Regions from separate parts of the Homo sapiens genome. Here regions 1 and 3 are each linked to region 2. Evidence: promoter capture Hi-C in 16 types of primary human blood cells and fetal thymus (Javierre and others, 2016). All regions are on one chromosome and are shown on one strand. Each heading gives the region's core, a stretch centred on a gene start or on the middle of the fragment in contact. The rest is flanking DNA. Distances are from core to core; before and after follow the strand shown.

What was found. The method cuts DNA at HindIII sites, captures the fragments that hold promoters and counts their contacts. A CHiCAGO score of 5 or more calls a contact.
Region 1: a contact is called between a fragment that was not itself captured here and the fragment with the promoter of ALDH4A1 in region 2, in 1 of 17 cell types (fetal thymus). The highest score is 13.1, in fetal thymus.
Region 3: a fragment that was not itself captured here is called in contact with the fragment with the promoter of ALDH4A1 in region 2 in 6 of 17 cell types (fetal thymus, erythroblasts, activated CD4 T cells and 3 more); the score reaches 18.3 in fetal thymus.

What each region holds. Positions count from the first base shown.
Region 1 is chr1:19,482,434-19,485,219 of GRCh38, forward strand. The region is part of intron 1 of CAPZB (capping actin protein of muscle Z-line subunit beta); the gene reads right to left. It also overlaps a transcript of LOC105376819 not described here. Among named protein-coding and RNA genes, the nearest start is that of CAPZB, 1.7 kb to the right of the region's middle. RefSeq lists enhancers at 1,383-1,891, 1,892-2,399, 2,400-2,786. The HindIII fragment of the contact is 294 bases long and covers 1,132-1,425 here.
Region 2 is chr1:18,901,288-18,903,987 of GRCh38, forward strand. ALDH4A1 (aldehyde dehydrogenase 4 family member A1) reads right to left here and starts at 1,268. Exons shown (of 15, transcript NM_003748.4): 1 at 1,175-1,268. The coding sequence starts at 1,236. It overlaps LOC124903866 (a long non-coding RNA gene), which reads left to right and starts at 826. Exons shown (of 2, transcript XR_007065519.1): 1 at 826-965; 2 at 1,523-2,084. RefSeq lists a silencer at 1,035-1,254 and enhancers at 1,335-1,564, 1,504-2,321. The HindIII fragment of the contact is 9,883 bases long and covers 1-1,564 here.
Region 3 is chr1:19,594,333-19,597,147 of GRCh38, forward strand. MICOS10-NBL1 (MICOS10-NBL1 readthrough) reads left to right here and starts at 2,647. Exons shown (of 4, transcript NM_001204089.2): 1 at 2,647-2,777. MICOS10 (mitochondrial contact site and cristae organizing system subunit 10) reads left to right here and starts at 2,647. Exons shown (of 4, transcript NM_001032363.4): 1 at 2,647-2,777. The coding sequence starts at 2,714. MICOS10-DT (MICOS10 divergent transcript) reads right to left here and starts at 2,500. Exons shown (of 2, transcript NR_135054.1): 1 at 2,378-2,500. RefSeq lists an enhancer at 2,440-2,739. The HindIII fragment of the contact is 1,026 bases long and covers 1,009-2,034 here.

The sequences.
Region 1 (2,786 bases), core at 29-2,528, 580 kb after region 2:
CTGGAGCAGCAATTCCTGAGGGGGCCTCCCTAGTCCCCGTTCCTGCTAAAGCCTCACCATCATCATAACTAAGAATAATTCCCAAGTCAGAAACTGAAGCTGTGTAAGGAACGGTGCTCTGAAATTGTACAGCACTCAGACAGTGGTAAGATTATTACCTGCTAAGGGAATGCAAATAAATTCCATTTGCCTATGCATTTTAACTGGGAAGGAGAAACTCATGCCAACAAAAATCATGGAATTCATTCCAAAGTCAAATGCATTTTAGATTCTCAAGTCACTATTTCCCTCAATGGATAACAGAGATCTAGCTGTATTCTCTACCATCAAATCTACTGAAAATGAAAAACATGGTGATCTGAATTCATTTACCTACAATGCAACCTCACACCACCACTTCTGTCCTACGCCAACCATCTACACCGGCTTAATGGTCAGAGTATTCAAATAGGGGATAAACGTAACAATAAGCAGTCAGAAATTACAAGGCTAAGGGATACTAAGAACAAGTGACTGAGAGAATGAATATGAAATCCAAGCAGGTAAGTTCATGGACACAGACACATGCCAAAGAGAACATTCCAAGTGGTTTCTTCCAACGCCAGGTGCTGTTCTAGGCCCCACGGATACAGCTGCGGAAAACACAAGACACAAATCTCTGCCCTCCAAGAGCTCATTCTGGCCCATGCTAAATATGCCTGTATCACCATACAGCTATTTCACTATAAACATGATTTCCTATACAAAGGATCTAAAATACAATACATGGGCAATAAATACTGCTCCTCCCCCCTTGCCATGTTTGAATATCCCATTTTATGTTTTTCAAACGGTATCATTAAACCTTCTGACATACAAGCAGCTTGGTACAATGGGAAGAACAGTTTAGAGCCTGCCAGATGGGCTTCCACTGACCAACAGTGGTTCCTCCACTGGCTGAGCAACACCCTGAATAAGTCACTCCACCTCCTGAGCCTCAGCTGCCTCATCTATAAAATGGGGACAGCCCCAGAAGGGCTTCCTGTGGATGAAAACAGCTTGTACAGGTGAAGCACACCACAGTGACTGGCAGACAGTTCCTCCACCCTTTCCAGCCTTTTCAGATGAGAGCTGAGTACAAGACTCCTGAGAAGCTTCAGGTGTCATGTGCTCCTCCTGGGGGACTGAGGCACTTTCCCATCACCTGGCGAGAATCGCTGCTTCCTGCCTTATACTTTGTCCTGAGTGCACACTCAGGAAACTTCAGCCCACTTTCAAAGTCCTCACCCACCACTGCCCTGGAGAAGTCGTTCTCCATCAAGGCCTGGGGCCAGGCCCACCTCCCCAAACAAGGAGTTTTCAGCCAAAGTTACTGGACAAATCCGAAGGCCTTAAAAGTGGCATTGCCCATGTTTTTAATCAGCATACAGGAAGGCATCAAAAGAAAGCTTAACCCATCTCAACTACTCACCCTCGTTCAGCAGCAACATCCCTTGACTAAACAAGGAACCATGGTCCTCAAAACACTTTGAGGCCCAAAGTCCACATACAAACATGCTCCAAAAATCCCTTGATCCTGTCAGGAAGAAGTTCTCTGGCCCTTCCAACCTAAGTGCTGGGCCTGTCCTGCAGAAGGGTCAAGTGGCAGGAGGGCAGGTCTATCTGTGGGGGCCTATGTGAAACCCCAGGTTCCTCAAAAGTCTGGATAGCATCTGCCTTCTTTACCAAAACAAACACCACGAGCGGAGCCAGCACTCTCCCTAGGCGTTCTGCTCACCTGATCCGAGGGACTTCCATAATCAGCAGTTCCAACCCTTGCAAGCTGACAGTTCAGAGGGAAGGGGAGGCTGCGCCTGCTTGGGTGCATCGTGTCCAGGCCATATGCTGGATCCAGGGCCTGGTGGCCCCCCAAGGCCACGGCCTCACAAGGGCGATTGTGCGTTCATCCTTGTCCTGTGGGCCACCCATCCTCGCCCCTCGGCTCCCACTCAGGCCCGGGCGCCGTGGACCCCGGCCTGCCCTGCAGAATGCTTCGCACGCACAGCACCCACGGCGGCAGCCTCGAGAAGGGCCCGCAGAGCAGCGCGCTGCCTTCTGGGCACACCGATGCCCGCCCTTCCCTCGCTGGCTCCTAGGCGGCCTCCCTAGAAGCGGCAACTGAGAAGGCACAGCACCGGGACCACCCCATCCCTGATGGAGAGCTCCCCTCGCTCCCCAAAGGCTGCAAAGAAGGCGCGCCCCAGGTACAGGGAAGGGGACCCTGGGTCGTGCACCAGGCAGGGGGCAGGACCCTGATGAGAGGCTCAGGGCGGGGACCGAGCGGGGCTGACGCAGGTTACGCTAGGAGTGGCGAAAAGTCCAGGGAAGGGGATCATGGTGGGGAGGGGGCAGTGAGGTCCAGACGGGGGCCATGGGCGGAGAAGAGGAGGTCCAGATTTAAGTTCACAGAGAGAAGAGGAGATTCAGGCTGAGGCCACGGAGAAGAGGGGAAGCAAACCTAGGCCGCTGCAGAAGGGGCTGACCGGGGTCCAGCCTGAGGCCATGGAGAAGGCAAAGGGGGAGGGACAGAGGGAGGCAGCGGCCTAGCCTGGGCCATGGCAGGGAGAAACGACGGCCTAGCCTGGGCCGGAGAGACGGGGGAAAGCAGACCTAGCCCTAGACCGGGGGAGGAAGGGGGCCCACGCCAGGGTCACCGAGGGGGTGCCTGGCTGGGGACACGGTTCGGGAGGGAGGGTCTAGCCTGGGCTATGGGAGAGACCAGCCTGAACACAGAGGTAGTGAGTGGGACTCCAGCTTGCGCCAAGGGC
Region 2 (2,700 bases), core at 18-2,517:
GCAGTGTTGCAACTCACTTGTGCTCAGAGCACCACCATGCCATCCCTTGGGGGAAGGGAGAGGGCCACTGATTAACTCAGAAAGGGCACAGCTCATCAGGAAAGACACTGCCACTAACAGCCCCAGGGGTCAAGCAAACAAACCTCAAATGGGAGGGGGGGCTGATCCACAGGTGGGCAGCCCCACCAGACTAGGAACCCCTCTGGGGCAGGGTCTGTGTCCCACCTACCTCTCCAAACCTAGCTCCGAGCTGGAGGGGCTCTGAGAATATTTGTCATTGAGTGGGCAAGGGTCCAGGCACCTGGCTCCACAATGTCAGGTTTGCAAATCGGGATTTGAAGGGCAGGTCCACCCCTGAACTGCTCCTGGGTTTCTTCATTATTTGGAATAATGACCTGCCTCACAGGAGTGAGAAGTTTAAATAGAGGTGATAATGATGATGATCGTGGCAATAATAATAACCGGGCGCTGCCTTTGTGCTGGGCACTGTTCAGTGCACTCCCCATGTATTAACTCATTTAATCCTCATAAGACACCTGCCAATTGCCCGGCCAGCATTTGGTTCATTATAAGCACTCTATAAATATGATTATTCCACCTACAAGAAGAAAGGAATCCTTTTTTCTGTCCAACATTTAACTTGAAAAAAAAAAAAAAAAACGGGCGGCGGGGTGTGTGGGGAGCGGAAAAGAGAGAGGTAGAAATCCTGGTAGAAGGAGAGGACTCGGGGAATCCGGGGCGGGATGGGGACACTGAACGTGAGACGAGGGTGGGGAAGTGAGATGTGTGGTGTGCTAAAAATAGAAGGGCCCCTCAGGGGAAGCCAGCAAATTGCGAAGATCCAGTATTAGGAGTGAGGTGAGTGACTACAGAGGCTACTTTCCGAGCGTGGGAACCGGCAGGGCCACCGAGGCACCCTACTCGGTCGCAGGATTCGGGAAGAGGGGTCCCCTCGCTAAAGGAAGGTGACTACCTGAGGGAGGAGGCTAAGGGATCTCAGTGGGAGAAAGGCCTGGGTGGGGGTCGGAGGGGAGCCCCTGAGGAACCCGGCGTTGACCGAGGCAGCTTGGGGGTCCGGCAGGGAGGGAGTGCGGCGCGGGGGACGCCCAGTGACTCTCAGGCTCCCGGGCCCCAGGCGCGCGCTCGGGCCGCCCCGGGCCCCGTGCTCACTCACCCGGCCCCGGTCCAGGGGCGGGACAGCAGGGCGCGGCGGAGCGCGGGCGCCGGCAGCAGCATCTCGGGTTAGAAGCGGGGCTGTTCGCTGGATCGTCCGCCCGGGCGCGGCGAGAATGCACAACCCCGTCCAGAGCGCACCACCTCGATCCTCGGGGGGAAACGGATCACCCCGGCTGTCCTCCGAGCTCGGGATCAGCCAAAGTCCCACTATATTTAGCTTCGGCTAATAAAAAATATTTCTAGTGCCATAACGGGGGCATTACACAACACAGGACAAGGGAACCCGAAAGCGAAGTCCTGAAATGCATGCGTTTTCCCCTCCTCTCTTTATGGTATGACCCGGGAGAGAGGGCGTGAACTCTGTCGACCAGTCAGAGTGACACACCAAAGCTTCTGAACCAATCAGCGGGGCGGTCCTGCGGCAGCCTTCCAAAGCGGAGCAGAGAGGGGCTGAATAGAGCCAATGAGATAACCGAAATGGGACACGTGCTGAAGCGGGGCAGAAGGACTCGCTGCGTCCGGCCCTCTGGCGTGCGCCCCGGGTTCGATGGGAGTCCGACTGACTTCTCTCGGGCTGCCGGTGGCTTGTACAAGGCTGGAAACCTGTCCGCTACCAGACTCCTCGACCCCGCAGGGCCACAGCGCGGCCAGCCCCCTGCTTCTTCCCGGGGGCTGCGGCCCCTGGAATGAGCCTGCCTTCCAGCTTCTTGGCCAGGACCCAGCCGCTCTCCACCTACCCTCCAGGCGCGGGGCCGGCCAGCTTCTTAGCTTCCTTGCAGATTACGATCAATGCAAGATAAAACCTGAGCTGGCCAACGCTTAGCTTTTCATTTAAAGCCTTTGGCCGCAAAACCAGTTGTTCCTGAGCCTTTTACCCCCAAGTAAAAATTTCAGCTTTCTTTGCAAAATGTTGTGTGCTTGGTAAACACTAGAATGCTATTTAAAACTTGGATTCTGAAGTCTTCTCTGATGACGAGGTCTCAGGGACCCAATCTATTCCTAAAGTAATGTTACGTTTCCTTACTCTCTGTTCTAATTTGTTTATATTTCTTCCAGCAGCATGAACCGCGCACCTGCTTAGGAGTCAGTTCCCATGCTGATTTTGGTTCCTCAAGCAGGGCACTAGGCAGACTACATATCCTTTCCGGGCCTCAGTTTCCTCATCTGTAAAACGGAAGTAATAGTACCCAACTCACAAAGCCCCCGTGATCTTAAGCCACTTATTTTTCTCCAGATTACACCATTTGAGGTACTTTGGGAGAATGTAAACATTTAAATGAAGAGTAGGAGAGGGAGATTACCTAAATGCCAAGTATTAGGAATGGCAAAAAGCAAATTGGAATTGGTGGCGGCTATTTGTCTTCACCTTTGGAGAAAACCCTAGACAGGTGGGCTCAGTTCACATTTGGGCAATGTTGCCCTGAACATGCCCATTGACAAGAAAAACTAGAACATTGGTTACTGTCAAATCCAGAGCCTGGGAAGGTGACCTCCTGTGGGCACGTTGGAGAGCCTGGAAAAATG
Region 3 (2,815 bases), core at 272-2,771, 690 kb after region 2:
AAAGAAAAATTTAAAGAATAGGAAAAATAGGGCTGGGCATGATGGCTCAAGCCTGTAATCCCAGCACTTTGGGAGGCTGAGGTGGGTGGTTCACCTGAGGTCAGGAGTTCAAGACCAGCTTGGCCAACATGGTGAAACCCCATCTCTACTAAAAATACAAAAATTAGCTGGGGGTGGTGGCACGTGCTTGTAATCCCAACTACTCAGGTGGCTGAGACAGGAGAATCTCTTGAACCTGGGAGGCAGAGGTTGCAGTGAGCCAAGATCATGCCACTGCACTCCAGCCTGGGTGACAGAGCAAGACTCTGTCTCAAAAAAAAAAAAAAAAAGAAAGAATAATTTAAAAAAATAGAGAACTAGGAGAAGGGAAGGGTGGTCATAGAAGTTATCTTGAAGGAAGAGGCTGTCGTAGCAAGATCTGATACAACAGAGTTTTGCTGTCATAGTTGCAAATAAATAGTTGAACGATGCCTGTAATCCCAGCACTTTGGGAGGCCAAGGTGGGTGGATCACTTGAGGCCAGGAGTCAAGACCAGCCTGGCCAATATGGCGAAACCCCATCTCTACTAAAAAAATACAAAAAGTTAGCCAGGCGTGGTGGTGGGCGCCTGTAATCCCAGCTATTTTGGAGGCTGAGGCAGAAGAATTGCTCAAACCCAGTAGGCAGAGGTTGCAGTGAGCCGAGATCGTGCCACTGCACTCCAGCCTGGGCAACAGAGCGCGACTCTCTCTCAATAAATAAATAAACAAATAAATAGGTGAATAAATTCAATTCAGTTCAACAAATATTTCATAGAAGACCCTACTATCCAAGGCATTGTGCTCTGACTGGAAGTATGAAGACGAAGGGGCAACTTCTAGTTCTACTAGCAGATAATATCTACAACCAGATGTTTCAGTACTAGATAGAGAAATCAATGCGGGTAGGCAGGGTAGTGGGACAATGAGAAGGGGAAGGCAGCTCTAAGCTCTATCTGACTAGGCTTCCTAGAATCAGTGCAGTGTTGAAGCTTGGATAGATCCAGTGTATGAATGGGAGTCATTGACAGCTTTTTTTTTTTTTCTTTTGTGATAGGGTATCACTCTGATGCCCAGGCTGGAGTGCAGTGGCATGAACATGGCTCAGTGTAGCCTCCACTTCCCAGGCTCAAGTGATCCTCCTACCTCAGCCTCCTAAGTAGCTGGGACTAAAGGCACACATCACATTAGCCTGGCTAATTTTTTAAATTTTTTGTAGAGACAGGAGTCTCACTATGCTGCCTAGGCTGGTCTTGAACTACTGGCCTCAAACAATCCTCCCGCCTCAGCCTCCCAGAGTGTTGGGATTACAGGTGTGAGCCACTGCTCTCGGCCTTCATTGACAGCTTCTAATCAGAGGCATAACGTGGTCAGATTTCTATTTGTTGGTAGGATGGAAGACTAAAATCAATGACACTAGCCAGTAGGCTGGATATACAATCTCTCTTGATAGCTGTGGGCATTTGGTTTCAGGATCTCGCAGTTACCAAAATGCAGGATGCTCAAGTCCCATATATAAAATGGCGTGGTATTTGCATACAACCTACACACATGCTTACATATCCTTTTTTAAAATTACTTATTTTTTTTTAAAGAGATGAAGTCGAACTCCTAGTCTCAAGCAATCCTCCCATCTCAGCCTCCCAAGTAGCTGGGACTACGGTCGCATGCCACTGCGCTGGCTCCCATATACTTTAAATCATCTCTAGGTTACTTATAATACCTAATACAATGTAAATCCTAGGTAAATAGTTGTACTGTATTTTAAATTTTGCATTATTTTTTATTTGATTCAAAAATGTTTCTGGTCCATGGTTGGTTAAATCCATGGATGCAAAACCCACAGATACAGAGGGCACCCTGTGTATGTATGTGTATGTGTGTGTGTGTGTGGGTGGGTGTGTAAATATATACATGGATAGGAGGCCTGAGGTAGACGTTTTACCTGGAGATATAATTTGGCAGTGTTTGCAATTACTCAGGGAGAGTCTGTACAGTGAAAAGAGAATTGATGGAAGCTTGCGAACCAACAGTCCTTAAACAGCTGGCAGAGAAAAGGCAGCCCTGGAGGAAACCAACAGACAACAGCAGATGGGGAGAAGAGGAAAGAGTGGCGTTACCGGGAGTGAAACGAATAGAGGAGCCAGGGAGGATCAGAGGGAGGGAAAATTGTGTGGAATGCGGTACAGAGGTCAGAAAAGAGTCCATTTGATTTGGCGGTAGGTAATCTTTCCCAGAGCAGTTTCGGTGTTAGTGGTTCAGGCGGGAATTCCAATGCAAGAAACCAGTGAACGAATGAGAGAGTGAGTAGGGAAAGTGAAGGTGAGTACGTTAATGAATGAATAAATCAAGTCTGTACCCTCTCTTGCCCGGGGGATTTCCAGGGCCAATGTCGCACTTTGGTGAGGAGGAAAGGCCTGGTCACGGCTTGGGGTGACGCCTAGGAAACTGTCAGCCTCGCAAACCCATAGGCGCAGCCCCAAGGTCAGGGTCACCTCGAGCCTCCAGACAACTCGTCACCTTGACGACCAACTGAAAAAACCGGAAGGGATGGAAGCAGCGGATCATCTCGCGATATCTGGAGCGTCTGCGCCTGCCTTCCTGACCTGGGACTTGTTTCCAGCTCTCGCGAGACTTTCAGGGGTCGGAGCGCGGGGGCCGGCCGAGAGGAAAGCTGGAGGCGCGGGTGGGGAACATGTCTGAGTCGGAGCTCGGCAGGAAGTGGGACCGGTGTCTGGCGGATGCGGTCGTGAAGATAGGTAAGGGGCTTTTCGCCCCAGCAGGCCCGGCCGGTGCA